Linked DNA regions of Homo sapiens: all the other regions are linked to region 4. Evidence: promoter capture Hi-C in human tissues and cell types (Jung and others, 2019). All regions are on one chromosome and are shown on one strand. The core of a region is centred on a gene start or on the middle of the fragment in contact, and the rest is flanking DNA. Distances in the headings are between cores, read along the strand shown.

Region 1 (2,700 bases), core at 109-2,608, 290 kb before region 4:
TCAAACTAGCTTGGGCAATATAGTGAGACCTTGTTTCTTAAAAAAATAAAAGGCTGTGCTTGGTGGCTAATGTCTGTAATCCCAGCACTTTGGGAGGCTGAGGAGGGCGGATCACCTGAGGTCAGGAGTTTGAGACCAGCCTGGCCAACATGGGTGAAACCTTGTCTCTACTAAAAATATAAAATTAGCCGCGTGTGGTAGTATGCTTCTGTAGTCCCGGGTATTTGGGAAGCTGAGGTAGGAGAATCACTTGAACCCGGGAGGCGGAGGTTGCAGTGAGCCAGATCGAGCCACGGCACTCCAGCCTGGGCGACAGAGTGAGACTCCCATCTCAAAAAGAAAAAAAAAAAGTAAAATAGGTACTGTTACTGAGATTCTACTGTTGAGGAATTTGAGGGTGAGAGAGGGGAAGTTTCAGAAACCAAAGTTACACAGCTGTGAAGTCAAGATTCTAACTCAGTTTTTTTGCTTCGCGGTATAAGCTTTGAATCACCTTGCAGTACTTAAAGCTGCAGCTTCAAGTGAATCATGATAATGCTGTTTAATCCTATCATTACTTTTTCTTGGGGAAACCTCGCGCCACTTCAATTTTTTTCAAAGATGTACCATTTTAACCATTTAAAAGTTCACAATTCAGTAGTGTTAAGGATATGCACATCGTTGTTCCACATTTCTGGAACTCTTTCATCTGGCAGCGCTGAGACTGTAGCCCCCAAATACTGATATCTCCTCCTCCCTCGCCCTCCCCCGGTAACCATCTTTTCTACTTTGTTTCTATGATTTTGACTACTTTCAATACTTTATTTTTTATTTTTTTTGAGATGGAGTTTCACTCTTGTTGCCCAGGCTGGAGTGCAGTGGCACGATCTCAGCTCACTGCAACCTCTGCCTCCCGAGTTCAAACAATTCTCCTGCTTTAATTTCCTGAGTATCTGGGATTACAGTCATGGGCCACCATGCCGGGCTAATTTTGTATTTTTAGTAGAGATGGGTTTCTCCATGTTGGTCAGGCTGGTCTTGAACTCCTGACCTCAGGTGATCACCCCCCATCGGCCTCCCAAAGTGTTGGGATTACAGGCGTGAGCCACCGTGCCTGGCCTTGCCTGTCTTTTTCATCTGAGCCATTCTAGCGGGGTATAGTGGCATCTTGTTAGTTTTAATGTGCATTTCACTGATGACTCATAATGGTGAGCGCTTACATGCTTGTCGGTCTTTGTATGCCTGGATTTGTAAAGTGTCTGTTCAAGACTTTTGCCCATTTAAAAAATTGGATTGTTTGTATTTTTAAGTTCCTTACATATTTATTTATTTATTTATTTTTGAGATGGAGTCTCCTCTGTTGCCCAGGCTTGAGTGCAGTGGCGCGATCTCGGCTCACTGCAAGCTCTGCCTCCCGGGTTCACGCCATTCCCCTGCCTCAGCCTCTGGAGTAGCTGGGACTACAGGCGCCTGCCACCACGCCCAGCTAATTTTTTTTTTTGTTGTATTTTTATTAGATATGGGTTTCACCATGTTAGCCAGGATGGTCTCGATCTCCTGACCTCGTGATCCGCCCGTCTTGGCCTCCCAAAGTGCTGGTATTAACAGGCGTGAGCCACCACGCCCAGCAGTTCCTTACATGTTTTTTTTTTTTCAGATGGAGTCTTGCTCTTGCTCTATTGCCCAGGCTGACGTATTTTTTATACAAGCCGTTTGCCAGATATATATGTGTCGCAAATATTTTTTCCTAATCTATGGCTTAACTTTATTTTTTGGTAGTGCCTTTTAATAAATCAATACTTTTAATTTTTCTTAACCATGCTCTGGCAAGTTTTATTAAAGAAATTTTCGGCTGGGCGCGGTGGCTCACACCTATAATCCCAGCACTTTCGGAGGCCGAGGCGGGTGGATCATGAAGTCAGGAGTTTGAGACTACCCTGGCCAGTATGGTGAAACCCCGTCTCTACTAAAATTACAAAAATTCGCCAGGCGTGGTGGTGTGCACCTGTAGTCCCAGCTACTTGGGAGGCTGAGGCAGAAGAATCGCTTGATCCCGGGAGGCAGAGGTTGCAGTGAGTCGAGATTGCGACACTGCATTCCAGCCTGGGCAACAGAGTGAGACTCTGTTTCAAAAAAAAAAAAGAAATTTTCGCAGGGTTTATTTTTATCTTTTATTTTTTGTTGTTGCCTAAGCAACATCCGCTTTCCTTAATTCTGAAAGCATATCTATAAATAAGTCACCCAAAGGCCAAATAGATGCATTTGTTTTGTCTGGTTGTTAATGTTTTCTTTTTAAAAAAATATTTATGTATTTATTTAATTTTTGAGACAGGATCTTGCTCTGTTGCCTAGGTTGGAGTGCAGTGTCACAGTCGTGGCTCAGTGCAGCCTCGTGTTCAAGTGATCGTCCCACCTCAGCCCCTGAAGTAGCTGGGACTACATGTGCGCACCACCATGACCGGCTTGTTTTTTGTAGAGACAGGGTTTCATGGCATTGCCCTGGCTAGTCTTTAACTTCTGGGCTCAAATGATCTGCTCTCCTTGGCCTCCCAAAGTGCTGGGATTACAGACGTAAGCCACTATGCTGGGCCACCAAGATACTATTTATTTCCCTGAATATGACGTGGACTGTTCCTGTAGGCTGGTCCCTTCACCTCAGGACCCTCTTTGCTGGTATTGTTTGGGGCTTCTGCGCCTGTATATGGGGATGGGACCTGACCC
Region 2 (2,700 bases), core at 189-2,688, 270 kb before region 4:
CCATGTGGCCCTGTTCTAGCATAGGGGAAGGGAAAGGAAGGACGTGCCTCCTTCCTTGAAGGCTGCTGCTTTGATGATGTGTACAGCAGTGCTTACATTGCATTGGCCAGACCTTATGGCTGTACCTGGGTGAGTGGGAGACTGGGGAATGTTGTCTTCCCACTTACAGTGGCAGGTCCTTAAGCCTAAGGAAGGAGAATGGACACTGGCCAGTGGGTGATGGTCTCTGCAATCCCAGGGCCAGATTGCTTCATATCTTTGACTAACCTTTGTTTCTATAATATCATGCTTGACATAGAGATGAAAACACTGGAAACATCTAGGTTTTTAAATACTCTCTCCTGATAACTTCTGGCTCTGTCAGCATATCTTAGGTAAAATTAAATATACCAAAGCTTTGCTTCTTTCTTAGCATTCTCTAGTTTAGTGAGTGAATAGAGCAGAAGAGGGGCTGCTGGCCAGCGGTTTCTGCTTTCATAGAGGAAGTGACTGCCCACACCCTGATTTTAGAGTCTTCATCCTAACCATGTTACAGCCTTGAGTTGCAGAACTGTAGCTCTGTTTGGATATTGTGAACGTATTATTTCTCAAGTTCTGTTACCTTGAGAACAGGTGACATGAATTTAAACTTGCTTTTTTGGTGTCGCAGATAAGAGTTTTAAAAAAAGAAGGAAGAAAAGGTCCCACCTTCTGGAGTTTCAGGTTTTAAACCTAGGAGGATAATAACCTGGTTATTATGTTATGAGAGGGATGGGCAGATGTATGTTCTAAAGAGAGAACAGATTGCTGCCAGCCAGCTCCTAGCTGTTTGTGCTCTTATGCTCCTAGGAACTTGCCACAGCCTCACGCTGGTCTGTTCCAGAAACCAGTGAGCACTCTGTAGGCAGAGCCCTGGAGTGGCCCCTGGATTTTATGACATAAACATAAGCTTATGAGTGCACCAGTGCATTCTTACTCTTGGTGGTAGCTACAGAGATGTCTTCTCTCACCTTGGAACATCAAGGAAGATTTGTATGTGCACTGTTCTCTGACCCCCACTTGCAGCCCTTCACCAACATGCACTCTGTGCGCAGACATGCATGTGTGTACACGAGGTCTTACACATGGGAAAGGGTCTATAAAAAATTATGTTGGGCCCATCTTGATAGAAAGTAAAATAATACAGTTTCATCAGAAGGGTAGCTGTGTTTTCATTGCTAGTTCATTTGGCATGCTCTTCAAAAAAATAAGTATTTTTTTGTAGGCATTCTGAGCGTGTGATATTCTTTATCATACCCTGCTTTGTAGTCTGTGGCTGAAGGGGAAAAGAGAAGTAAATGGCAGATTGTACTTATATGTACTTTGGAGAAAATATCTGCGAGTGTAAGCTACAGCCCCAGCCACAGAATGTTCGCACGGGTGGGAGGGACTCTTGCTGGACAACGTGCCACAGTGCTGCACACGTTTCTGTCTGCTCAGGTTATGATGGCTTTGTCAAATCACCTGAATGCTGTGGAGTCCGAGAAGCAGAAACTGCGTGCGCAGGTTCGTCGTCTGTGCCAGGAGAATCAGTGGCTACGGGATGAACTGGCCAACACGCAGCAGAAACTGCAGAAGAGTGAGCAGTCTGTGGCTCAACTGGAGGAGGAGAAGAAGCATCTGGAGTTTATGAATCAGCTAAAAAAATATGATGACGACATTTCCCCATCCGTGAGTGGCTCTGTAGCAAATGTGGTGCTAATGTTTAAAATGGAGTCACTGGGAAAGTCATAGAGGTTCTGTTTGCCATATTCTTTTCATATTAGAACATATTAGAACATTAGAACATGCAAAAATGTTTTGTAAATATAAGCCACAATCCAGAGAGACACCATTACCTTCAACAAGGTCTGCCCCGAGGTCTGTCCCGAGGTCTGCCCCAGCTTAGGCTCTGGAGCTTCCTTGCCCCTCTGTAGCTTGGCTTCCATGCCATCAGCTGCTGGTCTAGCAGTGGTCCAATCTGGCCGTCTGAATTTGGACTCTGGGCAACCTCTCTGCCCCTTAGGGTGGGTGCTCTTGGCATTGCCATTCTCTTTGAAACTCCCCTGGCCCTCTGGACACCACCTGGCTCTCTTGCCGCCTCTCTCATCCTCCCCTTGGCTTCCCTTGCCAGCTTATCTTTCTGTATCTGCAGGGGAAGAAACGATCTTGGTTTTCTTCTTCTTCTTTTTTTTACAAGGAGTCTCGCTCTGTCACTCAGGCTGGAGTGCAATGGCACAATCTTGGCTTACTGCAACCTCCATCTCCCGGGTTCATGTGATTCTCCTGCCTCAGCCTCTGGAGTAGCTGGGATTACAGGTGTGTGACACCATGCCCAGCTAAGTTTTTTTTTTTTTTTTTTTTTTTTTTAGTAGAGATGAGGTTTCACTGTTTTGGCCAGGCTGGTCTTGAACTCCTGGCCTCAAGTGATCTGCCCACCTCAGCCTCCCAAAGTGCTGGTATTCCAGGTGGGAGCCACCATGCCCAGCCTTCTTTCTCTGTTGGCTCTATTTGGATGTTTATCCTAGTCTCAGTTATTTTTCATTCAACATTTATTTCTGATTCAGTTAACTTTTTTTTTTTTTTTTTTTGAGATGGAGTCTCACTCTGTCACCCAGGCTGGAGTGCAGTGGCACGATCTTGGCTCACTGCAACCTCCACCTCCCGGGCTCCAGCGATTCTCCTGCCTCAGCCTCCCGAGTA
Region 3 (2,700 bases), core at 186-2,685, 340 kb before region 4:
CCGAGATCCCGCTACTGCACTCCAGCCTGGGCTACAGAGTGAGACCCTAATAAAAAAAGAGAATATAGATACAGTCAAAGGCTGGATGGACTCAGTGAGGGACAGTCTGACCTAAAGATTAGTCCTGAAATATCTGGATTCCATTTCTAAGGTTGTCATGTATTACTCTGAATTAGTTAAGTCATTCAAACAAGCGAGTATAATCTTTCCCTGGTCTTTGGACACGTAGCTTGTTTGCACGGGGCACAGTCTCTGATGGGCTTCATGTTTTCTCTGTGGCACTCGGGTGAAGAGGACCAGCCTTACCCAAGATCAGGCCTTAGAGGAGCCTGGCCCCCACCACCACCTCCTGCCCCTGCCTTCCCTGTGGCAACAGCAGAAGTGTAGCTTGCTTTTACATGTCATAGAATCAGGTCGTCTGTATTAGTGAAATGGAATATGGCTTTTCCTTGAAGAACTGTAATCCCCATGGGCTACCGGTTTTCTTCTCCTGGAAGCGCTTATTTACTTTGGGCACTGCTCCTCATGACAGCATTGCTTAAGTAGGTGGAGGTGTAAAGGTGGTTTGCAGGTGGAGAGGAACTTTCTGTCCTGCCATGCAGAGCCTCCAGAGTGGTCGTGGCCCATCACATCCCTAAAATGCTGCCAGCTCGGCAGGCCTGGGGTTTCCAAGGGCTCTCTTGGATCTTTTAGCAAAAATCAAAGGAGTACTTAAGAGGCTGAGGCAGAAGAATTACTTGAACCCAGGAGGCAGAGGTTGCAATGAGCCAAGATTGTGCCACTGTACTCCAGCCTGGACAACTAAGCAAGATGAAAAAACAAAACAAAAAAAACTCCAAAGGAGGGGCCGGGTGCGGTGGCTCACACCTGTAATCCCAGAACTTTGGGAGGTTGAGGCAGGTGGGTCAGGAGATCGAAACCATCCTGGCTAACACGGTGAAACCCTGTCTCTACTAAAAAAAAAAAATACAAAAAATTAGCCGGGTGTGGTGGCGGGCGCCTGTAGTCCCAGCTACTCGGGAGGCTGAGGCAGGAGAATGGCGCGAACCCGGGAGGCGGAGCTTGCAGTCAGCCGAGATCGCGCCACTGCACTCCAGCCTGGGCGACAGACCGAGACTCCGTCTCAAAAAAAAAAAACACCAAAGGAGGATGGTGGCGGCCTCCAGAAACAGGGCTGGAGAGGACTCCAGGCGTCGCCAGTGGGCCTCACTCTCAGCCTGAGGAGAGGCAGGCCTCTATGAATAGTTTAGCTTTAACAAGGGCAGGGAAAGGGCAAAGCAGTTGAGGCCTGGTCAGTTGAACTCATCCTCAACTGGGAGCCACTTCTGGGCCAGGGCACCAAGCCTCAGTCCCTGCCACCGTGTCACCTGTGCATCCTCTGTTTCTCTACAGAGATTGGTACAAGCGCAATTTTGCCATCACCTTCTTCATGGGAAAAGTGGCCCTGGAAAGGATTTGGAACAAGCTTAAACAGAAACAAAAGAAGAGGAGCAACTAGGAGTCCACTCTGACCCAGCCAGAGTCCAGGTTTCCACAGGAAGCAGATGGAGCTCCTTTCACAGGGGCTCTGAGAAAAACTGGAGCTGATCTCAAGAAGCCCCACATCTTCCTAAGGGGCCCCATGGCCTGTTTGGGGGCAGGGTAGGTCCTGGGGCACTGTGGGCCGCCTGCCTGCTGATGTGGGCTCTAGGCCAGCTTGTTGTCACGTACGTGGTGTGAAATAAAGCCCAAGCACTGGGTGCCCGTTTCCTGTGTTTCGAATTATACCAATTCAAAACAGAACTATTTAAAAATATTGGCCAGGCACGGTGGCTCACACCTGTAATCCCAGCACTTTGGGAGGCCGAGGCGGGTGGATCACTTGAGATCAGGAGTTCAAGATCAGTCTGGACAACATGGCAAAACCCTGTCTCTACAAAAAATTAGCTGGGTGTGGTGGCACGCACCTGTAATCCCAGCTGCTCTGGAGGCTGAGGCATGCGACGCTTGAACCCAGGAGGCGGAGGTTGCAGTGATCCAAGATCGCACCACTGCACTCCAGCCTGGAAGACCAAACGAGACTCTGTATCAAAAAATAATAATAATTAATAAAGTTTTACTGGAAAAAAGAAGTCTGCTGACGGGAATGATGTGGAAGCTGACTGCCAAGCGATCGGTGTGCTGGCCGTGGAGTCAGCACCACCCTCACTGTGAGTCGTCAGCTGGTGGGTCCTCACAGGCTGCGTCCTGAATGCAGTGCGGTGTGAGGACATGAAAGCAAATGCAATTTTATTGCATGCCAAAAAGTTTAACTTGATTCTTGGTGTTAACTATGTTAGTAGATTCTTCAATGCTATAAGCAAATTAACAAGAAACAGCAGCACTATTTTCCTCTTTTCTTAAACACGAAGGTTAAATGGCCAGGCATGGTGACTCATACCTGTAATCCCAACAATTTGGGAGGCCAAGGCAAGCAAATCACTTGAGCTCAGGAGTTCGAACCAGTTTGGGCAACATGGCGAAACCCTGCCTCTACAAAACATGCAAAAATTAGCTGGGCATGGTAGCATGCGCCTGTAGTCCCAGCTACTCGGGAGGCTGAGCTTCGAGGATTGATTGAGCCAGTGAGGTCCAGGCTGCACTAAGCCAAGATCCTACCACTAGGCAACAGAGCCAGACCCTGTCTCAAATAAAAATTTAAAAAAATAATAAAAAAGGCCG
Region 4 (2,700 bases), core at 85-2,584:
CCAGCCTCAGCGACAGGAGTGAGACCCTGCCTCAAAAGAAAAAAGAAAAGCAAGTTATTTCTTCCTGGCAAAGTGTGTTGAGGCACTTTTGGGAACCTGTCGTATTTGGCAGAGTCCTAATATGAGGTCTAGAGCTCATTATGCCAGGATTTGGAGCCAGAACTCCTGGCTTAGTATGATTATGGGTTCAATTTTTGAGACACCAATAGCTCAACCTACCTGCCTGATTTCTGTCTACAGTGTTTTCAAACCGCCCTCTTATTTGCCACTGCTTGGGCTTTACACTGCTGATTAGAGCCATGCTCTCGATACCGTCTCTGTATTTGTTCACATGGCTCTTTCCTGAGAGCCCACATGGGCCAGATAGATCCTGCCCTGGCCAGTGAGGGGGACACACCCCAGGCAGGTGGCCATGTCTCTCTTCTGACCCTCCCTTCCCTTGCACACGTGGCTGCCTTCCCGTGCATCCTTTGTTGATTTCTTCCCGCGGCTCCTTCTTTTGGGGAGTTTGCTAGGGCTCTGTTCTCCACCCTCACTCTTCTAGAGCTCGGCCGGGACCACCTCAGCCTGTATCTTTGGTCCATGTGATCGCCTGGACCTCCTGTCCGCACCTGTTTGTGTCCAGCTGTGAGTCTGACACCGCCGCCTGAGACACCGGTTTAGGAAGGAAGATGAATTCAGTTATGATCCGGCTGCAAAGAACTTCTCCCAGATCCTCACCTCAGCCATCAGGGCCGCCTGCCCTCCCCTATAACCCTGGGTGGTCCTCCGTCTGGCGCATTCCCCCGTATCCTGCAGGGGTCTGCCTGGCGTTACTTTCTCCGAGACCTTCCTGACCTTCTTCTTGCCCCTCTCCCCCCATATTAGGTGCAAGGATGTCCTGGTACGTCTGACCCACGAACGCAAATCCCTTCTCTGGTTTGCCTTCCATCTCCTCACCCTGAGGTGCTCAAGAAACGTATGTAGGGTCCCGGTCCGCTCAAAGCGCACAAACCTCCGAGGCAGCAGCCTCTAAATAGAGAGGCCAGGGAGTGACCGGAGGGCATTTTCTTGTACACACAGGGGTTGCCACGGAACTCCCGTGAAACAGACTCCCGGGCCAGCCGCGGCGCTCAAGCTTCCCCTGAGGTCCTAGAAAGGCTCACCCTGGGCTCGCTCGGGGCGGCGGCTCCCGGCAGGCCTAGCGCGGCGGGGCGGGGCCGGCGGCACGAGGACCAGGCAGCGCGGGCAGCACGCGCCCGGGCCGGAGCCCGCCCACAAGGGCGCGCGGCGCGTTCTGATTGGAAGGCCTCGAGCGGGGGCGGGGCTTCCAGGGTGCGCTTCCGCCGTCGCCTGTTCCCGCCGCGGAGACCCGGCAGTTGGGGGATGCCGACGCCTGGGCCTTGAGGATGCTGCGGAAGCTCACCATCGAGCAGATCAACGACTGGTTCACCATCGGCAAGACGGTGACCAATGTGGAGCTGCTGGGCGCGCCGCCCGCCTTCCCGGCAGGGGCGGCCAGGGAGGAGGTGCAGCGCCAGGACGTGGCCCCCGGCGCTGGTCCCGCGGCCCAGGCTCCGGCTCTGGCCCAAGCTCCGGCCCGGCCGGCCGCTGCGTTCGAAAGGTAGGACGCGGGCGGGGCGGAGGCGGCTGGAGGGCGGCCGGGCGAGGCCTGGCGACGAGGGCACGGGCCATCCAGATCCTTCTCGCGAGCCCGTGCCCTCTCGCGGGGCTCCAGGGACCCCTGACCGTCCAGGGCGAGTGGTCACTACACAACCCGACGCGCGGCCCAGAGCGGTGCCTGTAAGGAAGCTGAGCTAGAGGTTTTTTTTTTTTTTTTTTTTTCAGTTCTTAATGTTTAACAGACTAGTTTTTGAGGCACTCAGGTTTTCAGGATAACGGAGCGGAGGGCAGAGGTCCCATAGGCCCCTTCCCTCCCAGAGTTTCCCCTGTGAGCATCTGCGTAAGGTGTGGGTATTTGTGACAGTCGGCGAACCTGCATCGCTGCGTCTTCGTCACCCGGAGGCCATCGTTACAGGAGGGTTCACGCCTCGTACTGGACGTTCTGTGGGTTTGGACAAACGCCTAACGTCACGCATTACAGAGTTCACTGACCTACAGATCTTCTCGGCCCCACTGTTCCTGCCTCCCTTTCCCTACACCACGTGGAAACCACTGATTTTTTTACTGTCTCCATAATTTTGCTTTTCCATACTGTCATCTAGTTGGAATCACACAGTATGTGTAGCCTTTTTGATGGGTTTCTGTCACTTAGTATTAGTATGCATTTGGGGGTTCCTCCATGCCTTTCCATGGTTTGATAGCTTCTTTCCTTTTAGCACTGATTAATATTCCACTGTCTGGATGTACCACAGTTTATCTCCATTCACCTACTGAAGGAGAGCTTGGTTGCTTCCAAGTTCTCCCCCCACCCCCCGAGATGGAGTCTCACTTTGTTACCCAGGCTGGAGTGGAGTGGCGCCATCTCGCCTCACTGCAATCTCCCCCTCCTAGGTTCAAGCGATTCTCCTGCCTCAGCCTCCCGAGTAGCTGAGGCTACAGGCATATGCCACCACGCCTGGCTAATTTTTGTATTTTTAATAGAGACAGGGTTTCACCATGTTGGCCAGGCTAGTCTAGAACTCCTGACCTCAGGTGATCTGCCCACCTCAGCCTCCCAAAGTGCTGGGATTACAGGCGTGAGCCACTGCGCCCGGCCTG

What was found. The method cuts DNA at HindIII sites, captures the fragments that hold promoters and counts their contacts. A contact is called where the count stands out against the background at its distance.
Region 1: a contact is called between a fragment that was not itself captured here and the fragment with the promoter of TDRD9 in region 4, in 2 of the 25 tissues and cell types used here (adrenal gland and dorsolateral prefrontal cortex).
Region 2: a contact is called between a fragment that was not itself captured here and the fragment with the promoter of TDRD9 in region 4, in 2 of the 25 tissues and cell types used here (dorsolateral prefrontal cortex and spleen).
Region 3: a fragment that was not itself captured here is called in contact with the fragment with the promoter of TDRD9 in region 4 in 1 of the 25 tissues and cell types used here (dorsolateral prefrontal cortex).

The regions. Positions count from the first base shown.
Region 1 is chr14:103,635,421-103,638,120 of GRCh38, forward strand. All of the region lies in intron 1 of KLC1 (kinesin light chain 1), which reads left to right. Among named protein-coding and RNA genes, the nearest start is that of KLC1, 7.6 kb to the left of the region's middle. The HindIII fragment of the contact is 4,003 bases long and covers 1-2,700 here.
Region 2 is chr14:103,656,088-103,658,787 of GRCh38, forward strand. It overlaps KLC1 (kinesin light chain 1), which reads left to right. Exons shown (of 17, transcript NM_001394837.1): 3 at 1,459-1,689. Among named protein-coding and RNA genes, the nearest start is that of KLC1, 28 kb to the left of the region's middle. The HindIII fragment of the contact is 3,897 bases long and covers 1-2,700 here.
Region 3 is chr14:103,588,789-103,591,488 of GRCh38, forward strand. COA8 (cytochrome c oxidase assembly factor 8) reads left to right here. Exons shown (of 5, transcript NM_001370595.2): 5 at 1,393-2,108. The coding sequence ends at 1,498. Among named protein-coding and RNA genes, the nearest start is that of COA8, 27 kb to the left of the region's middle. RefSeq lists enhancers at 1,496-1,997, 1,998-2,497. The HindIII fragment of the contact is 3,008 bases long and covers 1-2,700 here.
Region 4 is chr14:103,927,122-103,929,821 of GRCh38, forward strand. It overlaps TDRD9 (tudor domain containing 9), which reads left to right and starts at 1,335. Exons shown (of 36, transcript NM_153046.3): 1 at 1,335-1,603. The coding sequence starts at 1,389. The HindIII fragment of the contact is 10,851 bases long and covers 1-2,700 here.